4 separate regions of the Homo sapiens genome follow, and regions 2, 3 and 4 are each linked to region 1. The links are contacts of gene promoters, found by promoter capture Hi-C in blood cells and fetal thymus (Javierre and others, 2016). All regions are on one chromosome and are shown on one strand. The core of a region is centred on a gene start or on the middle of the fragment in contact, and the rest is flanking DNA. Distances in the headings are between cores, read along the strand shown. Region 1 holds the start of WDR7 (WD repeat domain 7). Region 2 overlaps TCF4 (transcription factor 4). Region 3 overlaps TCF4 (transcription factor 4). Region 4 overlaps LOC105372126 (a long non-coding RNA gene).

Region 1 (3,192 bases), core at 296-2,795:
AAAATTTAAGTTAAATTCTTACAGGGATATTCAAACCAAGCCAAGCCCAGTCCCTTTGATTCACCCAGTCACCGAGATCTTTTAAAATTTAGTTACAGGTGGCAATAAGAAAAAATAAAGGGCATACTCTCATTTTTCTCTTAAAGTATTTCTCTGAAACACTCTTAAAATAAGGATTGGCAGTAAAATAAATGAATTTTCTACCATAATCCCTAATTGACATTAATAATAAAGCATTAATTATATTTATAGTGGTTCGTTTTCCCAATTTATAATAACTAATATGTATTGTTCTGGATGGAACTAGACAGTTTTTTATTCTTTGTAATAATGAGGGCATTTCAACACATTATGTTCACTTTTAAGCTGACCTTCATACAGCCACGAGTTTGTTTATAAAGCAAGAAGCAGAGTCAAACTAAAATTTTTGTTTTACAAAATGTCAAAAACTCAGTTAATTTCTTTCATACAACAGGCAATTCCTGCAACCTTGCCCATAAAATCCTAAGACATAAACACCTGAAAGAGTCAGTTTGCCTTTTTTTGTCTCATGGCAAATATTACAGTGAGAGGAAGCTATAGCTGCCACTGACCGAACCCTAAATTCAGCAGCATCAACAATATCAATGCAGCCTGTCATGCGACGGTAGGTTCCCTAGTTTCAGACTATCTAACCCAGCAAATTCTGCCTCAAAAAGTGACATACTAAGTGGGTAAAAAACATAAAACAGCAATTTTTGAATCAAAGTTAGGGTAGTGCTGACTTCAAACATAGCTTCAGAACGCTGGGACCCATCACTAAGTGAATGGGAGTGACTGGCATCCGCTCAGACAAGTACTAGGGCAAAGGGATAAGAACTGGCAGATGGCATCTCAAAAATGAAATTCTAACAGTGGTGTCAGTACCTTGGGCATGGGCAAAAATAGTACCAACAGGAAAGGAAAGACTATATGAACCCCAAAAGCAAGCACATCGCCCAAAATTGCTGTCAATAACCACCAACGATCATCACCAATCACCTGATCCCGTTTAGATTGCACCTGGGAACCAGGCAGTCCCACCTCAAGACCAAAGCAACTGTCACAAGTAGCAAATATCACTCACCAGGCAAGGGAGCCACAAAGACCCCCGGCTGGCCCCCACGCTCTTGGTAACGGCGCCTACTTTTGGGCCCGACCTGCAGGCTTGCAGCCGCAGCGATCTGACAGCTAGCACCGCCCCCGGCTAGAGCGGGTTTGTGACCTTTGACCCCTGACCCCTGACCTCCACGGTGCAGGAACATCCCGCCCTGTGGTTTCCCATGGAGAAGCTTGAAAGCCCCCTTACCTGTCACAGCTTCATCTCATGCCGCGATGTAGCCTATCAGACCGCCGGTGGGCGCCCCAGCCAAGGAGGACAAGGATAGGGCGGAACTACGGAGGATGCGGGGTGCGTAGATCCTGCTGGGATAATCCGTGGGGCGGCAAGCGCTATACAGCCGCCGTCTCCCCAGTGATACTGCAAGGTGCCGGTGCCGCCGCCGCCGCCACTGCAGTAAATCAGCTGACACCAGCCCCAACTGCCGTGACTTTCGCTGCAACTGTCGCAAAAATGAGGGGGCGGGAAAGACTCACCATTTCCCTACTTGCAAGGCCTAAGCCGGCGCCGAGAGAGCCAGCCGCGTTACGATGGAGACCGAAAGTGGAGAAAAGGCCAGCTGTGGGCAAGGAGTGCACGGCCGCCATCTTGGTTGTGGGAAGTCTCGTCTAGGCTGTCCTCTCTCCAGTTGGGAGGACCAAGATGGAGCGAAGGATGAAGTAGCAAGTGCACGTCTTTCTTGGGAGCAGGATGTTGCGCAAGTTTACACTTCTGACCCCATCACACTGCTTCCCACTGAGATGCAAGAGGTAGGGAATTCCCTAAACACTGGAAAGTATGTTGGATGCTGGAAAGCTAAAAAGAATGACAAATGTCCCCCAAGATAGATAAGCTATAGTATAGTGCAGGATGAGAAATGCCAAATAAGGAGCAAGGAAGAAAAGAGATGAATTATTTCTAGGTTGGGGTAAGGAAGGATAATCACATTAGGTCATATGGAAGTCTAGAAAAATTGGTCAGATTTGGAATAATAATTGGGAAAGGAAAACAACTTTGTCACCAGCATTGAAATGTAAAACATGAATATATGCAATAAATAGAAAGTTAAATTTGGAAGAAATACAAGGGACGTGAAGTAGGTGAAGTGGGAAAATGTGGTATCAGGGCTTAGCTGTTTCTGCTCCGTGAGCGGCTCCTTTAACAGGCAGTCTATGCCCTGGAGCTCTCTTGTGGGTTGATAGAGACTTCATCACATTCGGCCTAGACCAGGTAATAAAAAAGTAACATGGAAAAATAGAATAATGTAGATAACAAGAGGCTTTTAGTGGCCATATAAGCTTTTTGGTCTTTATTCCAAAGACAATGAAAAGTAATTGAAGACTTTTGACTAATAAATAGTGTAGCACTTTTCCTAACCACATGGTATTCAGGTTTTTAAAATTGCTTTACAACAAATTATCACAGTCTTAGTGTCTTAGTGGCTTAAAGCAACACATATGTATTGCCTCACATTCCATGGGCAAGGAGGTCAGGAACAGGTTAGCTGAGTCCTGTGCTCATGCTCTCACAAGGCTACAAGTGGATGTCAGCCAAACTGCAATTCTCATCTGGAGGCTCAACTAGGGAAGAATCTGATTCCAAACTCCTGTCAGCTCATTCAGTTCCTTGTGGCTGTCTGACTAGGGGCCCTGGCTTCTTACTGGCTCTGAACTGGAAGTGGCCATCAGGTCCTAGCAGCCACCCACAGTTCCTTACCACATGGGCCTTACTAAAGGCTCTCTCGCAACATGGCAGCATACTCCTTCAAAGCTAGCAAGGAGAATCTCTCTACTGAGCACAAGAAAGGAGTCACACAGATATAGATACAGCCATGGATATGGACATGGACATAGATATGGAAATGGATGTAGATGATAACCTAAATTAGGGAGTGACAGCCATCACCTTTGCCATATATTATTGGTTAAAGTAAGTCACGGGTTTTATCTGTACTCAAGGAGAAAGGATTATACAAGAGTGTGACTTATCGGGGTCACTTAAGATGGGCCAGCCACAAATATTAATTTGGCAGCAATGTGCCATGTAAATCAGGTGGGAAATACAGGGAAGCAAGG
Region 2 (3,192 bases), core at 373-2,872, 1.2 Mb after region 1:
GATGGGTTGAGGAAATCTTTCCTCCTCCTCATGTTACAGTCTGCACTTGCAGAAATAAATCCATTCCCCTTGACAGCAAGTGGAGATCATAGAACTCCCCTCAATTGTTTAGTTCATCCAGATTTTCACAATTTCTTATGATTTATCCATTCAGTACACATGGTACTTTTAATTGTGTTTCAGAAAACAAGGTCTGTTTAGAATCATCTTAATTTAGGATTAAAACTAACTAGCTTTTGGTTTTTGTTAGCTGTCCTGCCATTTTTCTCAAGGAATATATTGGTGAATAATTTCAAACCAATTTTGTGTAATTTATATTTTCTAAATCCAGAAGTTTGCATGAGACAAATCATTTGTGGCAGATTTATACCCAGGCGTACTTTCAAGGTCTCTCTTTTTTCATCTTAACATGGGGATAGTGTCTACCTTACAGCACTGTGCTGAGGATTAAATTAGATAATATATATTAAGCTTTTAGTACACTATCTAGGATGAGGACACTTAATAAGTGATAATTAGCATTATGCAATGCCTGGTATAGAGTGAGTGAGTGTACTATGATGGGTATTTAAAATGTAGCCTCTTTTTATAGATGGACATGTTGGCAGAATTAGATTACAGTATCAGGCAAGTTAATTGTTATACACGAGGAAAGGTGATTGAGAACGGGGTAGTTTTCCTTAAGGTTGAGGGGATGTGTCTTTTCCTTGTTCATGCAGCAGCCCTCTCTTTTGTGTGGGCAGATTTTGCCCTTTGGCTCACATGCAACCGATACCTCTGAGTAAATTTGACTTAGACTTTCATGGGCAGTTCCACCAGCTGAGCAGAATGACTTTTTCCCCCCTTTTTGGTCACTTTATGCACTTTAGTAGACTGAAAGTTGAACCATGTAGTATAGATGATTTTAACTCTTTCCTATTGCGTTATCAAATTTCCCCATTAAAATTAAGTAACTGGACAGCTTAAGAACATTGTTTTAATTTTAAATTCCCCTTAAAACAATAAGCTGATTGTAATAATGAAATATTTCTGTCAAAATTTGTCTGCCTTACAACTGGTTGTTTTTTGTGACATGCTTTGTCCAACTCCAGAAATGCTAATTTATGCTAATGTTTTGATGTTCATATCCTAGTTAAACCCTAATATTCTTAACTTTCTTATGTGTTAATTACTTATGTGACAATCTAGTTCTCTTACAACCACAATACCACAATAGTAACTATAATAAAACATTGAAACTTCAGTATCCTAACACCAAATGTTATTGTTTGAATGGCTCTATCTTGGTCTTTGAAAAGCAATTCATTGCATGCTATGCCTAATTTTCCCTTGTGGCACAATTTTGCTTTAATGTGGCCTTATTAAAATAATAATTTTTAACATAAGCAATATACTTTGTATGTGTCTGGTGTCTTACATACACTATTTTATTTAATCATGTCAACAACTCCATGCAGTTGATACCATTATTATTATTCCTAAGATTTCTCAGCTATTATGAGGAAAATTTGGACTTCGTAGACTCTAGAGCTTTCTTTTAGCCACTATACCTGTGAAAGTGCAGATTCCTTCTAGTGAAGTTCCAGGGAGGGAATAGTGGACTCCAATTTCTTTGGAGGGGAGAAGTTTTGGTAGTGGAGCTATGTTTGTTTATGTGCTGTTTATTAATATAAAATAATAACTTACACTGTCATTTTATTTACAGAACTATGGAGATGGGACTCCCTATGACCACATGACCAGCAGGGACCTTGGGTCACATGACAATCTCTCTCCACCTTTTGTCAATTCCAGAATACAAAGTAAGACCCATTTTAAATTAACTTACACTTTTTGAATGCTCAAGTTTTACTATAGAAGGTAAAACCATGTCCTAGACAGAGGTTCTGCTTTTAGAAACTTGGATATTTAGTCAGTTCACTTGTAATAATCTTAAATTGCAGAGAGGATTGGCAGTCTGTGTTTGGTAATAGTGCATTAAGGATTAAGTTTTACAAGCATATGGAATGAAATGCTTTTAGTGATACTGAATCTATGTGGAAATTTTGTTTTCCTTAGACCTAAAGCACGGACCACAGTTTCAATGTTGTATCAGTAGTTTCCTAAGTTAAGGTAGATGAAGTCAAAGTGGTGAATATTTAGAATAAAAATATCACTGGGCTTGTTGGTTGGCAGTGATATATAGTCAGTGTTAACTGTGATTTCTGCTAAAGGGGTTATGAAAATAAATGGTGTTAATGGGCTTAGTGTGCTTAAATCAGAGTAGTGCATTCAAGTTGAATTGTAAAATCTGATTGTATATTTATCAAGGCATGAACTTTAGTGCTAATGGCCTAGGCAGACCCCATCCTGCTTTATTAAAGCAAGTTACCTGTTAGTTTGAGGCTGTCTGTGAATCTCCGGCATGCCATTCATCCTGGCATCCTCAGCATGTTTTTCTGCTTTTGGCTACCCTGTAGGGATGTTTGTTTAACAGCAGTAACTTGAGCAATGAAAAGATGATTCCTAATGGCTTAAAAGGTCCCAATAGCTGGCTACTTTAGTTTTGATTGAAAAAAAAAAAGATCTTTGTTCTAGTAAACATGAGTTCTTAACAATATTAGTAAATCTCTCAACCTGGCCAAATTCTCTTGAGAATCTGTCAATAAGTGAAGTTAAATTTCTTGGTACAATCTGTTGGACAACACTCCAAGGAAACACACACAGCGATGATTATATTTTTCTGAGACCATAACTGCAAATGCTTCTAAAGAATGTCATGATTTTAAGCTTTGGAAGCTATACCAGTTACTTCAGGTCCTTGAATCTCAGGCATTCTTTGAAAAATCACCATCAAATCCATCTAAATGGATTTCAGATATTTAACACAAAATAGTCAAAGCAGATAAATACTAGCAACTTATTTTTAATGGGTAACATCATATGTTCGTGCCTTTGAGTATCTTACCAACTTTGAGAACCACAAAGTTGGTTTTGGTCATAGAATGTTCTTATTTTTGTGCTATTTTTGCCTTCAAAGTAGTAAATTTCATATTTACGTTTTAACATTGTAACTCAAGCAGGAATCCCAGTTCTTTATCAGTTGTTGATAGAAAGGTGCATTGTTTCTTGTTCTCAGGATATGTAGATACAGGTGACCAGATATATTTATCAACTTAGATTTTAAAAGGCAGCTTTTGACTCTTCAGTGTC
Region 3 (3,192 bases), core at 194-2,693, 1.1 Mb after region 1:
TGTGAAGTTTTTGCAGAAGTTTAGGTGAGAGACAGGGTTGCTGGTTCTACAGTGTGGGTGGTAAAGTTGGAGAATTAACTTTGTAGACTTTATTTGAAATCTGTACCTTTAGGTCATTGGGGAGCATTCATAGTGGCTACTTGTTTTTTTTTTTTTTTTTGGTGAAACTTCCTATAACTTTCTAATACTTGAAAATCTACCATACTTTATACATTCCGACAGTAATTATGAGACCTAATTCAGCTGTGTGATAGCCACTGCCTTTTTAGCAACCAAGCACTAACTAGAGAAGTGCTCTTTTATTTTCTGAGAAAAGTTAGATTGAGTTTGCAATTCTGCGAGGGTACAGGGGTGGAAGTGGGTCTTATTGAATGGTCTTCAGTACCATTTTGGCTTTTTTTTTTTGAGACGGAGTTAAGCTCTCATTGCCCAGGCTGGAGTGCAATGGCGCGGTCTCAGCTCACTGCAACCTCTGCCTCCCGAGTTCAAGTGATTCTCCTGCCTCAGCTTCCCCAGTAGTTGAAATTACAAGCATGTGCCACCACACCTGGCTAATTTTGTATTTTTAGTAGAGACAGGGTTTCTCCGTGTTGGTCAGACTGGTCTCGAACTCCCGACCTCAGGTGATCTGCCCACCTCGGCCTCCCAAAGTGCTGGGATTACAGGCGTGAGCCACCGAGCCTAGCCCTGTTTAGGCTTTTTATAGCCTATGTTCTTATGAGCAGTAAACATTATGATGGTTTAGTTAGACCTGTTGAATTGAATTCACTTCTCCTGCCTGTGGTCAGGTATCAGGTAGCACAGCCACAGAAGTTACTGAATGTCTTTGTTGGTGGACTTTAGGAGAGTGGTTTAATTTATGTGGTATTCTATCTGGGATTGCAGCAGTATTGTTAGATTGCATTTTGTCACAGGGAGGAAATTACCTGGTAACTCCTGATTAGGAACAAAATGAAGCTTCCCCTTTTTACAAATCCTGGCTAACATTCCATTTGGCTCTCTTCTGTTGACCACCTCTCTCTCTCCCCTCCCTCCTCACTCCATTTTCTCAGTTATTTTATTGTTTACTATTGGAAGTCACCTCCCAACTCAGGATACTTGTTAGTCCATTTTAGGAAAAATATCACCATTCTTTCACTATTATTCTCTGTTGAAGTTGAAGAACAGAATATTACTTTTTTTCTTTCCATTATTGGTTACACCAGCTAGTTAGAGACTTGGGGTAATACTGTGGGCATGGGTTGGATCCTGATATCTGTGTCAGTTAGTGAGAGTTGGTTCTATGACCCTAGAGCTCTTTGTGTCCTTCAAACGAGGGTGCTGAAACAAGACGAACATAGAACTGTCTATACCAAGCAAAAAACTCCTGAAAGCACATGCCCACTGCAGGTGAATTGGTAGCATAGTGTGGAGATAAGTGGGCAGTGCTTGGTCCTGTTTCTGCCTCCTAGAGAGTACCTCTCAGCATCCAGGGATGCTTTAGTAACTCTTAGTTAAAACGAAATGAACTATAATTAATTACCTTTCTTTTGGGAGGGACACAGAGAGTTTCAACAGCATCTACAATGCTTTTTTTTTTTTTTTGAAAAGAAAATATGATAGAATATTAAGATTGACAGAGCTGGGGATGGGTTGGAGGCTGAATTATGATGTGTGTTTTCTTTATGCTTGAATTATTTCATAATTAAAAACAAAACATATAATAACAAAAAAAAAAACACCCTCTACCTCTCATTCACATTCCCCTCTGGCCATAGCCTCTTTCTTGACTTCCTTCCTAGCAAGACTTTTGTTAAGTGTTTTCTACACAGGCTGCTACTGCATGCTTCAAAATTTAACCCCAAGCAAATATTAGAAAACATATTTTATCTTATAATACTTGATACCTACAGAATAATCTGTGTAACAAATGTAAGTTGTGAAGCTTAATAATGGAGTGAACATCTATGAACCCACCACCAACATAAGTACTGGAGCAATGTCAGATCCATTGGCCGGCCTGTGGGTTTGTTCCCTGTCCACCTTCCCCTATCTTTCCTGCCAGAGAGAAACATTCTCATGCCCTTTTTAAAGTAGTATTGTGACTGGCATATGTATCCCTAAACAATACTGTATGTTGTTTGGTTTTGCTTGTTTTGGAGGATTATAAAACTGATAGATTGTTTTGTGCTACTTGCTTTTTCACTTGGTATGTTATTGTCCATGTTGTTGCATGTGGTGTATGTTAATTTTCTCTGCTGATGAATAGGTTGTAGTTTATTTATGCATGTTCCAGTTGATGAACCTTTGTGTTCCTCTTTTTTGGAACTACAAACTTTCTTGTATGTTTCTCTTGATGCACATGTGTAAGACTTTCTCTGTGGGGTATATGAGTGGATATCTATGAGTAGAATTGTTGGTTTGTAGAGTTACATGAAAGTCCAGCATGGCAGGATAGTGTCCAGTTGTTTTTTAAAGATTCTTACTGATCTGCACTCCCACCTGTAGCATAAAGGATTACTATTGGTGCAGTCTACTGGTATAAAATAGAAAATGTATCCCATTATAGTCTTTTTTTTTTTTTTTTTTTGAGGCAGGGTCTCACATCTCACTCTGTTGCTCAGGCTTGGAGGGCAGTTTTGCAACCTCGGCTCACTGTCTGGTCTCGACTTTCTGGGCTCAAGTTATCCTCTTGCCTCAGCCTCCCGGGTAGCAGGACCACAGGCACACACATCTCACCCAGCTAATTTTTGTATTTTTTGTAGAGAAGGGGTTTCACCATGTTGCCCGGGCTGGTCTCGAACTTCTGAGCTCAAGCAATTTGCCTTCCTTGGCTTCCCAAAGTGCTGAGATTATAGGCATGAGCCACCACACAGGGCCGCATTGTGGTCTTAATTTGCATTTCCTTGATAATTCGGTTAAACAACTTTGTATATATTTATTTCAGATCATTCATGTCCACTCTGTGGAATCTACCCCGCCCCCATTTTCTATTGGGTTATTTGTTTTTTCTTATTGATTTCTAGGTGTTCTTGATATATTTTTGGATGATAATTATTAGTCATACATGCTGCAAATACCTTCTCTTATTTTGTGACTTTTACTCTCTCTATGGTAGCTCTTGATAAAGTCCTTAAATTTAAGATAGTCACGTAATTATTTTGAAGGGTTGGAAAAGCCTTCTTACCCCAAGGTTGTACATATATTCTCTTG
Region 4 (3,192 bases), core at 334-2,833, 1.1 Mb after region 1:
TTCAGAGGGGAGGGAAGAATTGAGGTGGATTTGATGGAAGGCTGGAACCTGCACAGGGAAACTGCAAGAGGGAAGTTGGATCATGGAAGGAAATATCTGAGAACAAATGCATTGTAGCACAGATGCCAAGAAAGCTTGGAAAATCTTGAGCTTTCTCTTCAACACTCATCTTCCCTCCCCACCAGTTGAGAAGCCTTGGGTATTATGTAGGATAATCTTCACTCAGCTCCAAGGGTAGGCTTTGATAGATTTGAGTCTCAGCAACATAATTACTTAGGGATGAATGTAAACCAGTCATGACATAATTTGAGTCAAAGGCAAGTATATTCCTAAAATGGTCCAGTCTCACCTCAGCTGAGGCTTTAGTTTCAAGGTTCAGGGGGCACCAACAGCTATCTCCGTCTAGAGGCAAACAAAAGAGTGATTGCTTCCATTTTTACTGGTAGCCATCTTGGTATCATGAGGGAGTTAGCCTGACATAAAATTGGGCTGAGTTGAGAGAAAAGTAGAGAAATGAAGCTGGAGCTGTATTTGATGGCTCTAAACCTTTTTGGATTTGCAAGCCCTTTATCATTTAAGCCAGTTTGAATTGATTTTTCTATTGCTTCGCAACCCTGATGGCTTTTCTGCTAATCTATACACAGCATTTCTTGAATGCTCGTTTTCATGGCCATAGCCACAGCCCTATTTCAGAATCTCATAAGCAGTAGTTAAGTGAACTGCAGTAGCTTTCTAACTGGTCTCTGCCTTCAGTTTCTTTTTACCTTAATTCATCCTCCATGTTGCCTCCAGAATGTTCTTCTCAGGCACATCTTATCACTGCCACCATGTGATCATCCTAATGGTTCCATGCATTGTGAAAAAAGGCCAATGGCACATGTATACCTATGTAACAAACCTGCGCGTTCTGTGCATGTATCCCAGAACTTAAAGTATAATAAAAAAATAAAAAATACAAAATAGAAAAAAGGCCAATGGATCCAAATTTGCTGGGTTTTAACAGTTTAGTCTTTTGGTTCTTCTCACAAACCCTAACAAGATCCTTACTCTCTAGCCTTCTCATCTTTGCCAGAGTTAATGCTTCAGCCCAGGACATTCTTTTCTCTCTATCTGCTTCATGGGAATACCACTTTTCTTTCCAGATTCAACTCTAGTCTCATCTCTTCTAAGAAGCCTTCTAAGATCTCTCCAGCTGATAGCAATGACTCCTTGCATTATAGTTTTACGGCATGATTTTACCACTTGATAACTCTCTATATAGTTTGTCAGGGGTTTGGGTGATTTATTCTTGTCTAGCCTACCCATTAGCATGTAAAGGCTGGGAAGTTAAGGGCCCCAGTTTTTCATCTTGAATGAATTCTTCATTGCCCCTTGCATAGTGCTTTTCATAGACAAACTGCTCAATGTCTTGTGTCCTCAATGTCATGTGTCCTATGCTTAACTGACTAGAGCAAAGACTTCCTTTAGGAGAGGATATGGAAATAAAGTTGGAAAAGTTAGGTGGGGAGGGGGTTGGAGGGCAGCTTTTGGAGGATTTTAAAATCCAGATTAGATATATTAAGTGCAATTATTTTACTGCACTTTGGAATAGGCAAAAGATTATCTGTTTTCCAAAATTTCTTTCATTCCTTCTATATTATTTACTCTTTTTAAACTTTTACCTTTTTTTTTTTGAGACAGAGTCTTGCTTTGTCACCCAGGCTGGAGTGCAGTGCTGCAATCTTGGCTCACTGCAACCTCCGCTTCCCAGGTTCAAGTGATTCTCGTGCCTTGGCCTCCTGAGTAGCTGGGGATACAGGCACACACCACCACACCCAGCTAATTTGTGTATTTTTTTAGTAAAGACAGGCTTTCACCATGTTGGCCAGGCTGGTCTTGAACTTCTGACCTCAGGTGATCCGCCCACCTCAGCCTTTTTAACCATCTCCTTTTCTTTGGGGGAGAGGGAAGGGGGAAAGCAGCTCTCGGGTTTGAAATATCATGCAGTTTGAGAAGAAATAGAATGCAAAGATGATTAGCTTTCTTTTCTCCTCTCCATTATAATCCCATAATAGACTTCATGAATACCCTTGCTAGCAAAGCAATGAGGGCCATTGCATTAGACTGTTCTCACATTGCTATAAGAAACTACCTAAGACTGGGTAATTTATGAAGAAAAGAAGTTTAATTGACTCACAGTTCCACAGGCTGTACAGGATGCATGGCTGGGGAGGCCTCAGGAAACCTATAGTCACAGCAGACAAAGGGGAAGCAGGCACATCTTCACATGGCACAGCAGGAGAGAGAGAGCGAAGGGGAAGGGTTACATACGTTTAAACAGCCAGATCTCATGAGAAGTCACTCACTATTATGAGAACAGCAAGGGGAGTCCGCCCCCATGATTCAATCACCTCCCATCAGGCCCCTCCTCCAACACTGAGGATTACAATTTGACATGAGATTTGGGTGGGGACACAGAGACAAACCATATCACCCATCTACTTGAGCAGTGGCTATAAACTTTTTTTTTTATGATAACCTAGTATGCATGTACTATACTGTATATTATACAGCTGAAACAAGACTTTTGTAAATCAGCAATACTCTTGTTATGATGCAAGTTAGTATTTTCCGTTATGCCATTTCACTTCAAACAAACAAAAACAAAAAGTTGATCTAAATCAATTTCATGACCATTAAAGAAACGTGTTCTTCTCAGGCACATCTGATCACTGTTGTCACATGCACGATTCTAAAGGTTCCACACATTGTGAAAAAAAGCTAATGGATCCAAACTTCCTGAGTTTTAACACTTTAGTCGACATATGAAAAATGTGGCATTAAAGCATATGTATCCTAATTACTAGGTTACAACTGTTGAATGAGCTAAGTGCTTTTGCCAGTATTTTATATTTAATTTGATATAATAATTTTATGACAGAGCATTATACCCTTTTAATAGATGAGAAAAGAGAGGCTTAGAGGTACAGATCCAAGGTTACACAGCTGCATATGGCAGAGCTGAGATTTAAACAAAAGTAGACCAAGCTTCTGCTTACAGCTCAGTGACATGTGCCATAGCTTTAAGTGACAGCCAATGCAATGAAGATTTCCATGTGCTGATTTTTTTCCAGATGGAGTCTCATTCTGTCATCCAGACCGGAGTGCAGTGGCACCATCTCAGCTCACTGCAACCTCCACCTCCCAGGTTCA

Evidence for each region. Contacts are between HindIII fragments. The CHiCAGO score rates a contact against its expected background, and 5 or more counts as called.
Region 2: a fragment that was not itself captured here is called in contact with the fragment with the promoter of WDR7 in region 1 in 1 of 17 cell types (monocytes); the score reaches 5.2 in monocytes.
Region 3: a contact is called between a fragment that was not itself captured here and the fragment with the promoter of WDR7 in region 1, in 1 of 17 cell types (monocytes). The highest score is 5.7, in monocytes.
Region 4: a contact is called between a fragment that was not itself captured here and the fragment with the promoter of WDR7 in region 1, in 2 of 17 cell types (monocytes and fetal thymus). The highest score is 8.6, in monocytes.

What each region holds. Positions count from the first base shown.
Region 1 is chr18:56,649,712-56,652,903 of GRCh38, reverse strand. WDR7 (WD repeat domain 7) reads right to left here and starts at 1,545. Exons shown (of 28, transcript NM_015285.3): 1 at 1,328-1,545. RefSeq lists an enhancer at 1,425-1,814. The HindIII fragment of the contact is 1,105 bases long and covers 1,313-2,417 here.
Region 2 is chr18:55,459,629-55,462,820 of GRCh38, reverse strand. It overlaps TCF4 (transcription factor 4), which reads left to right. Exons shown (of 20, transcript NM_001083962.2): 5 at 1,706-1,802. All of the region lies in intron 1 of TCF4-AS1 (TCF4 antisense RNA 1), which reads right to left. Among named protein-coding and RNA genes, the nearest start is that of TCF4-AS1, 8.7 kb to the right of the region's middle. The HindIII fragment of the contact is 2,298 bases long and covers 474-2,771 here.
Region 3 is chr18:55,570,267-55,573,458 of GRCh38, reverse strand. The region is part of intron 3 of TCF4 (transcription factor 4); the gene reads left to right. Among named protein-coding and RNA genes, the nearest start is that of TCF4, 16 kb to the left of the region's middle. The HindIII fragment of the contact is 967 bases long and covers 960-1,926 here.
Region 4 is chr18:55,596,148-55,599,339 of GRCh38, reverse strand. It overlaps LOC105372126 (a long non-coding RNA gene), which reads right to left. Exons shown (of 3, transcript XR_935479.3): 2 at 2,177-2,260. It also overlaps a transcript of TCF4 not described here. Among named protein-coding and RNA genes, the nearest start is that of TCF4, 9.6 kb to the right of the region's middle. The HindIII fragment of the contact is 2,893 bases long and covers 137-3,029 here.